Regions from separate parts of the Homo sapiens genome. Here region 1 is linked to region 2. The links are contacts of gene promoters, found by promoter capture Hi-C in blood cells and fetal thymus (Javierre and others, 2016). All regions are on one chromosome and are shown on one strand. The core of a region is centred on a gene start or on the middle of the fragment in contact, and the rest is flanking DNA. Distances in the headings are between cores, read along the strand shown.

Region 1 (2,700 bases), core at 175-2,674, 1.2 Mb after region 2:
TCTGTTGAATCTCCTCTTCCCTTCTACACCTCTTGCCCCACTCTCTGGCACCCCCAGATCCCAGGCCTCCCCCTGCTGTGGTTCTCCTTCTGCTCTCCTCGTCACCGGCTGTCCCCTCTTGCTGTCCCAGCACCACGCTGCTTGTCTGCCCTGGCTCCAAATCCCTCCTCCTCTCCCGGACTCTGTCTGAGGAGCCTCCCACTTTCTGGCCCTCTCCCTACCTTGCTGTCCTTCATGTCTCTGGACATCGAGCTTTTCTCTACATTTCCCCAGTTGCTTTTCTCCTTCTGCCTTCTCAGCTCCTTCTCTTACCATCTGCAAATCCCTCGCCCATCCTCTACTTTGCCATCTGGTTACGGGTTTCCCTCACTCTTTCCTCTCAGTTTTTCTACTTCTCTCTCTGTCTCTGCCCCTTTCTCTACCTGCTAATCCCCTTGGTCCACACATTCACAGGAAGGTTTGGACTAAGACGCCTGCATCTTGGAGGAGCGCATTTTCCAGGGGCTGGAGCTGGGCAGGCAAGAACACCGGGTGTCACAGGACAGGCCCCGGGCACCTCCCCAGCGCGGGCTCAGGAGAAGCGGGGACTGCGAAGGGGAGGCCTGGGGAGCAGCAGGGCCCGGCACGAGGAGGAGGGAGGTGGCGGGGCGACGGCGCCTTAGAAGAGGGGTGGGGTCTGCAGGATGCCAGGACCAGGCAGAGGACGCGGCCTCGCCGGTACCGGGGCTGAGGAGCTGCGCTCCAGGGGCCGACGAGGGCGAGGCTGGGAGGCACCCAGGGCGGGAATCCACCTCGCGGGCGAGGACTTTAAAAAGCCCGGGGCGGGAGGAGGGGTCAGGAAAGGGTTTTAAGCGGGAGGAAGACGCGAAAGGCCGGGGACAGGGAGAAGCCTCAGAGCTACTTCAACCCAAAGAGAAGCGACTCCGAACCCACACCGCGAGTCAGCTGGGGTGGAGGGCGCGGTGCGGGGATCTTAAGGTCTGTAGCTGCCGGGCGCAGTGGCTCACGCTTGTAACCCCAGCACTTTGGGAGGCCGAGGCGGGCGGATTACCTGAGGTCAGGAGTTCGAGATCAGCCTGGGCAACACGGTGAAACCCCGTCTCTACTAAAAATACAAAATTAGCCGGGCGTGGTGGCACATGCCTGTAATCCCAGCTACTCGGGAGGCTGAGGCAGGAGAATCGCTTGAACCTGGGAGGCGGAGGATGCGGTGAGCCGAAATCGCGCCATTGCACTCCAGCCTGGACAACAAGAGTAAATCTCCGTCTCACCAAAAAAAAAAAAAAAGAAAAAAAAAAAGGTCTGTAGCGAGCCCGGGAACTGGCTGCGGAAACGGGGCACGGCGGTTCGCAAGTTTAATCCATACTGAGGGACACTCACGCTCGGCGGCGTCACCCGCACCCAACACGATCCGCTTCCGGAACTGCAGAAAACTGCGCGTGCGCGGAAAAGAGCCCGGGCACTCTGGGGGCGGGGCCTGGGGAGAGGCGGGGTCTGCGGACGAAACGCTGGGGCGGAGCTGGGGCGGGGTCTGCGCTTCCCTCAGCCTGCCTAGCCCGCAGTCTCATTTTTCCCGGTTTAGAAACGCTGGAGTGTTCACTATGTCCCCGGGAGCACCGTTCCAATTTGAAGCAGTTTTAAGGTGAAAGAATAGACTTACGTGGACCACTTATGATAGAAACCAAAATGATTTCCTCTTACCAAGTTGAAAACGGTTTATGTTAAAATTGTTTGCCGGCGGGTTGGACCCAGTCCTGCTAGGGAGTCTGCTGCAGCTCAGGAACGGGGATCTGGGAATCGGGGATCTCGGTCTGGGAACTGGGATCTTAGTGGAGGATCCACGAGGCACGGCGATTGGATCCAGCAATTCCTGCAATTAAAATGTATTTAATTTAACTAAAATGTCTGGAAATTATCTCTGAGGATGATTCAAAGTAGAATGGGAAATGCAGCATCCTACCTGGACGGATATGCAATTTAATGCAGTAGCCCAACAGAACCTCCTTTACATTTCAAATCCCCATTCTCCCCAGTGGAAGAGTCAAGCCTGTGCTCAATTCATGGGAAGGTTAAGGCCGATAAGTTAGATCACCAAGGGCTGCTTTATTGTTCTTTAAAACATATATTTTTGTAAAGATGGGAGTCTCGGCCCAGGCTGGTCTCCAACTCTTGACCTCAAGCAATCCTCCTGCCTGGGCCTCCAAAATTGCTGGGATTACAGGAGTGAACTACTGTGCCCAGTCAACTACTGATTTAAACCATGTGAATTTTTAAAAAATAGAGATAAACTGCATTATTTTTGCTTATATTCGTTATTCCGTTCCACACTTGAAATGACTTAACCACAAACAACTTTGACATAATCTTTCTTTGCATCAAAATATGCTTAAATCAATAATTTCTAAATATCATGTAATTTCAAATTCACTTTATGGGCATTCTGAAGGGAACTTGACACAGTACTTTTTATTTTAAAATTGTAATCTATATTGGGTCTATTTTTTTGTTTTCTGTTTCTTAATGTTCTATCAGATGTGGATAACAGAGTGTGGAAAATAGTCACCACATGACAATTGGATTTATTTTCGCCTAAAGAATAGTTTTCCAGTATTTCTAACGTACCATCCCAGTACATTGACTGAACTAAAGACTCACAGGGATACCCTTTTTTCATGTTTATAGAGAACCTAGTTTATACCT
Region 2 (2,700 bases), core at 82-2,581:
TTGCTTTTATTTTGCAATTCTCCTAAGGAGTCATATAGTTCTGTAAAGCTTTTCACTCTTCACAGATTTGATATTTTAAGTAACACGGTATGTTTCTGAAATGGAGTTTGCATTTTGGGGCATTTTCTATAGATGTATCATGAAGGACACGTGAAAACTCTGTTATAAATATAAACACTCCACTGCATGCAGGAATTTCCTTCTCATTCTTCCAATGGAATTGTCTTAATTTAGGTTGGATCAGAATTAGAATTTACGTTATGATGACTATGTAAATAATATTTATAGGTCAGTCAGGTAGTATCCTATGATTACTTTTCTTGCACAACTTTTTTTTTTCTTTTTTCTTTTTTTCCTCATGAAGGGGTTGCCAAGGCTGTGTAGTGCAGTGGCTATTGATAGGTGCGATCATAGCTCACTGCAGCCTGGAACTCCTGGGCTCAAGCGATCTTCCTGCCTTGGTCTCCCCAGTAGCTGGGACTACACGTGTGCGCCATCGCGCCCGGGCTTGCACAACTTTTCATTCTCCCAGAGTCGCCTTATTTATTCCTTCCAGAATTTTAGGCACTTGGTTCTCCGAAAGCCCCGACGTTAAGATTGACTCCACCTACAGCAGAGGGAAGGCCCTTCTTCTCTCTTAAGGAAAATTCCCGCCTCCCGCATTGGATTCCTTTTCCGGTTGGCTGGTGGCTGCTCTCTTTACCTGCACTGGGCGGTGACCGTGTCCCTCAAATGTAAATGAGGTTCCAGGGGTCGCTGTTTTTTCACTTTCCGTTGACGGGGTGAACAATATCCTCGTACCTCGATTGCCTCTCCACACCCTTTTGGTCCTCAAAAATCTTCCTCTTGTCCTCCACATGTAGCTAGATGCGTTTTCGCGGTATATGACTCAGGGTGCGATTGCTCTTTTTCCTCTGTGGAGAAAGCGTTTTCACTTGTACGGACACCTAAGTGTTAAGATGGCCGCGCCCATTGTGTCATTCCCGTCATTCTTTGTGCAAAGCGGATGACTTTTCTCCCCAGCCCGCTAAGGTGCACGTAGCCATACCATGTTTGTCTTGGCTAAGCTCGACCCTCTGAAAATAAATGAAACTTGGGCGCAGGATTTAGGTGCCAAAATATGGAGTTCTTCACCGTCCCGCGCTATCCCTGAATACTTGGGCAGAAAAGGTCCACTTTACCTTCCGTACGTGCAGGATTCAAAGATGGCTGCCTCCAGTATCCGTGACGAGAGGACGCGAACTTACTACCTCCCAGTCGTCCGTGCTCCGTACACCTGCAACTTCAGACCTTCCTCGGCCGCCGTAGGCCGGCTTGGAGGCTGGGGGAGGGCCCAGAAGTGGAATAATTCAGGAAAGTGCAGGTTCTGGGAAGTCTCGGTGGGTTCCCCGCAAAATCAGGTCTGTGTGTGGGTCTGTCTGTCAGGATGAGGGGAGGAGGGTGTCTGTGGGCGTCCGTTTAGTGCGGAGCCGTGGAGTTTGTGGGGGAAGCGGGAGCAAGTGGGAGTCGGGGTATTGGGGTTGGGGCGTCTCCGGAGTCAGCCCTGAGGGATCCCAGTGGTCGGTGGTCAGAGTCTGTCCAGAGCAACACTTGGAAGTCCGTGATCAGGGTTTGGTGCCTTTGCGGGTCACTCTGTAGGGCTCGGTGATTGAGGACTGGAGTGAGGAGTGGTTTTTGTCAAGGAAAACTGTGTCTGCTTCGGATTCGGGGTTTTATTTTTTATTTTTGAGACAGGGTCTCGCTCTGTCACACAGGCTTGAGTGCAGTGGCGCAATCGTGGCTCACTGCAGCCTCCATCTCCCGGGGCTCAGGTGATTTTCCCACCTCAGCTTTCCCGAGTAGCTGGGACTACAGGTGAGCGCCACCACGCTATCTATCTATCTATCTATCTATCTAATCTGTCTAATCTAATCTATCTATCTATCTATCTATCTATCTAATTTATCTATCTAATCTATCTGTTTATTGCAGAGACGGGGGTCTCACTATGTTGCCCAGGCTGGTCTCCAACTCCTGGCCTCAAACGATCCTCTCACCTTGGCCTCCCAAAGTGCTGGGATTACGGGCGTGAGCCTTCGCTCCAGGCTGTAATCAGGATTTAATATGCGACTCAGTGAGGAGGAGCCCGGGTTCATGTGAACCTAGGTGTGTGGTCCAGGTTTTTGGATTAATCTAAGGGGGTGTGACCATGTTAGGGAGGTCTAGATGTGACAGTCGTGGAGAAGCTTGTGAAGGCTGAAGCCTTGGCAGCCAGGGCATCCTGATTGGTGTGTGTGTTCAGGTCCAACGGTACATTCCCTCTCAGTCCCTTTTAAGTTTCTCTGCAAGGACTGGTTTACAAATCTCATTTGACTTCTCACATCTCTCCTTTCTCTCATCCTGGTAAATAGGAAAGCTTTGGGGAAGATCAAAGATTAATCAAATCTAAAATGGTAAGGTGGCCTGGCGCGGTGGCTCACGCCTATATTCCCAGCATTTGGGAGGCCAAAGTGGGCGAATTGCTCGAGCCTAGAAGTTGGAGATCAGCCTGAACAACATAGCCTGTCTCTCCAAAAAATACAAATATTAACTGGGTGTGGTAACACACGCCTGTAGTCTCAGCTACTCGGGAGGCTGAGGTGGGACGATCACGTGACCCCGGGAGTTCTAGGCTGCAGTGAACTATGATTGAGCACTGCACTCCAGCCTGGGCAACAGAGT

Evidence for each region. The method cuts DNA at HindIII sites, captures the fragments that hold promoters and counts their contacts. A CHiCAGO score of 5 or more calls a contact.
Region 1: the fragment with the promoter of ZNF347 here is called in contact with the fragment with the promoter of ZNF613 in region 2 in 4 of 17 cell types (non-activated CD4 T cells, naive CD8 T cells, naive CD4 T cells and 1 more); the score reaches 8.7 in non-activated CD4 T cells.

Annotation. Positions count from the first base shown.
Region 1 is chr19:53,157,629-53,160,328 of GRCh38, forward strand. It overlaps ZNF347 (zinc finger protein 347), which reads right to left and starts at 1,425. Exons shown (of 5, transcript NM_032584.3): 1 at 1,381-1,425. RefSeq lists an enhancer at 1,328-1,622 and a silencer at 1,358-1,607. The HindIII fragment of the contact is 5,586 bases long and covers 1-2,700 here.
Region 2 is chr19:51,926,141-51,928,840 of GRCh38, forward strand. It overlaps ZNF613 (zinc finger protein 613), which reads left to right and starts at 1,332. Exons shown (of 6, transcript NM_001031721.4): 1 at 1,332-1,400. RefSeq lists enhancers at 352-1,115, 971-1,270. The HindIII fragment of the contact is 2,177 bases long and covers 47-2,223 here.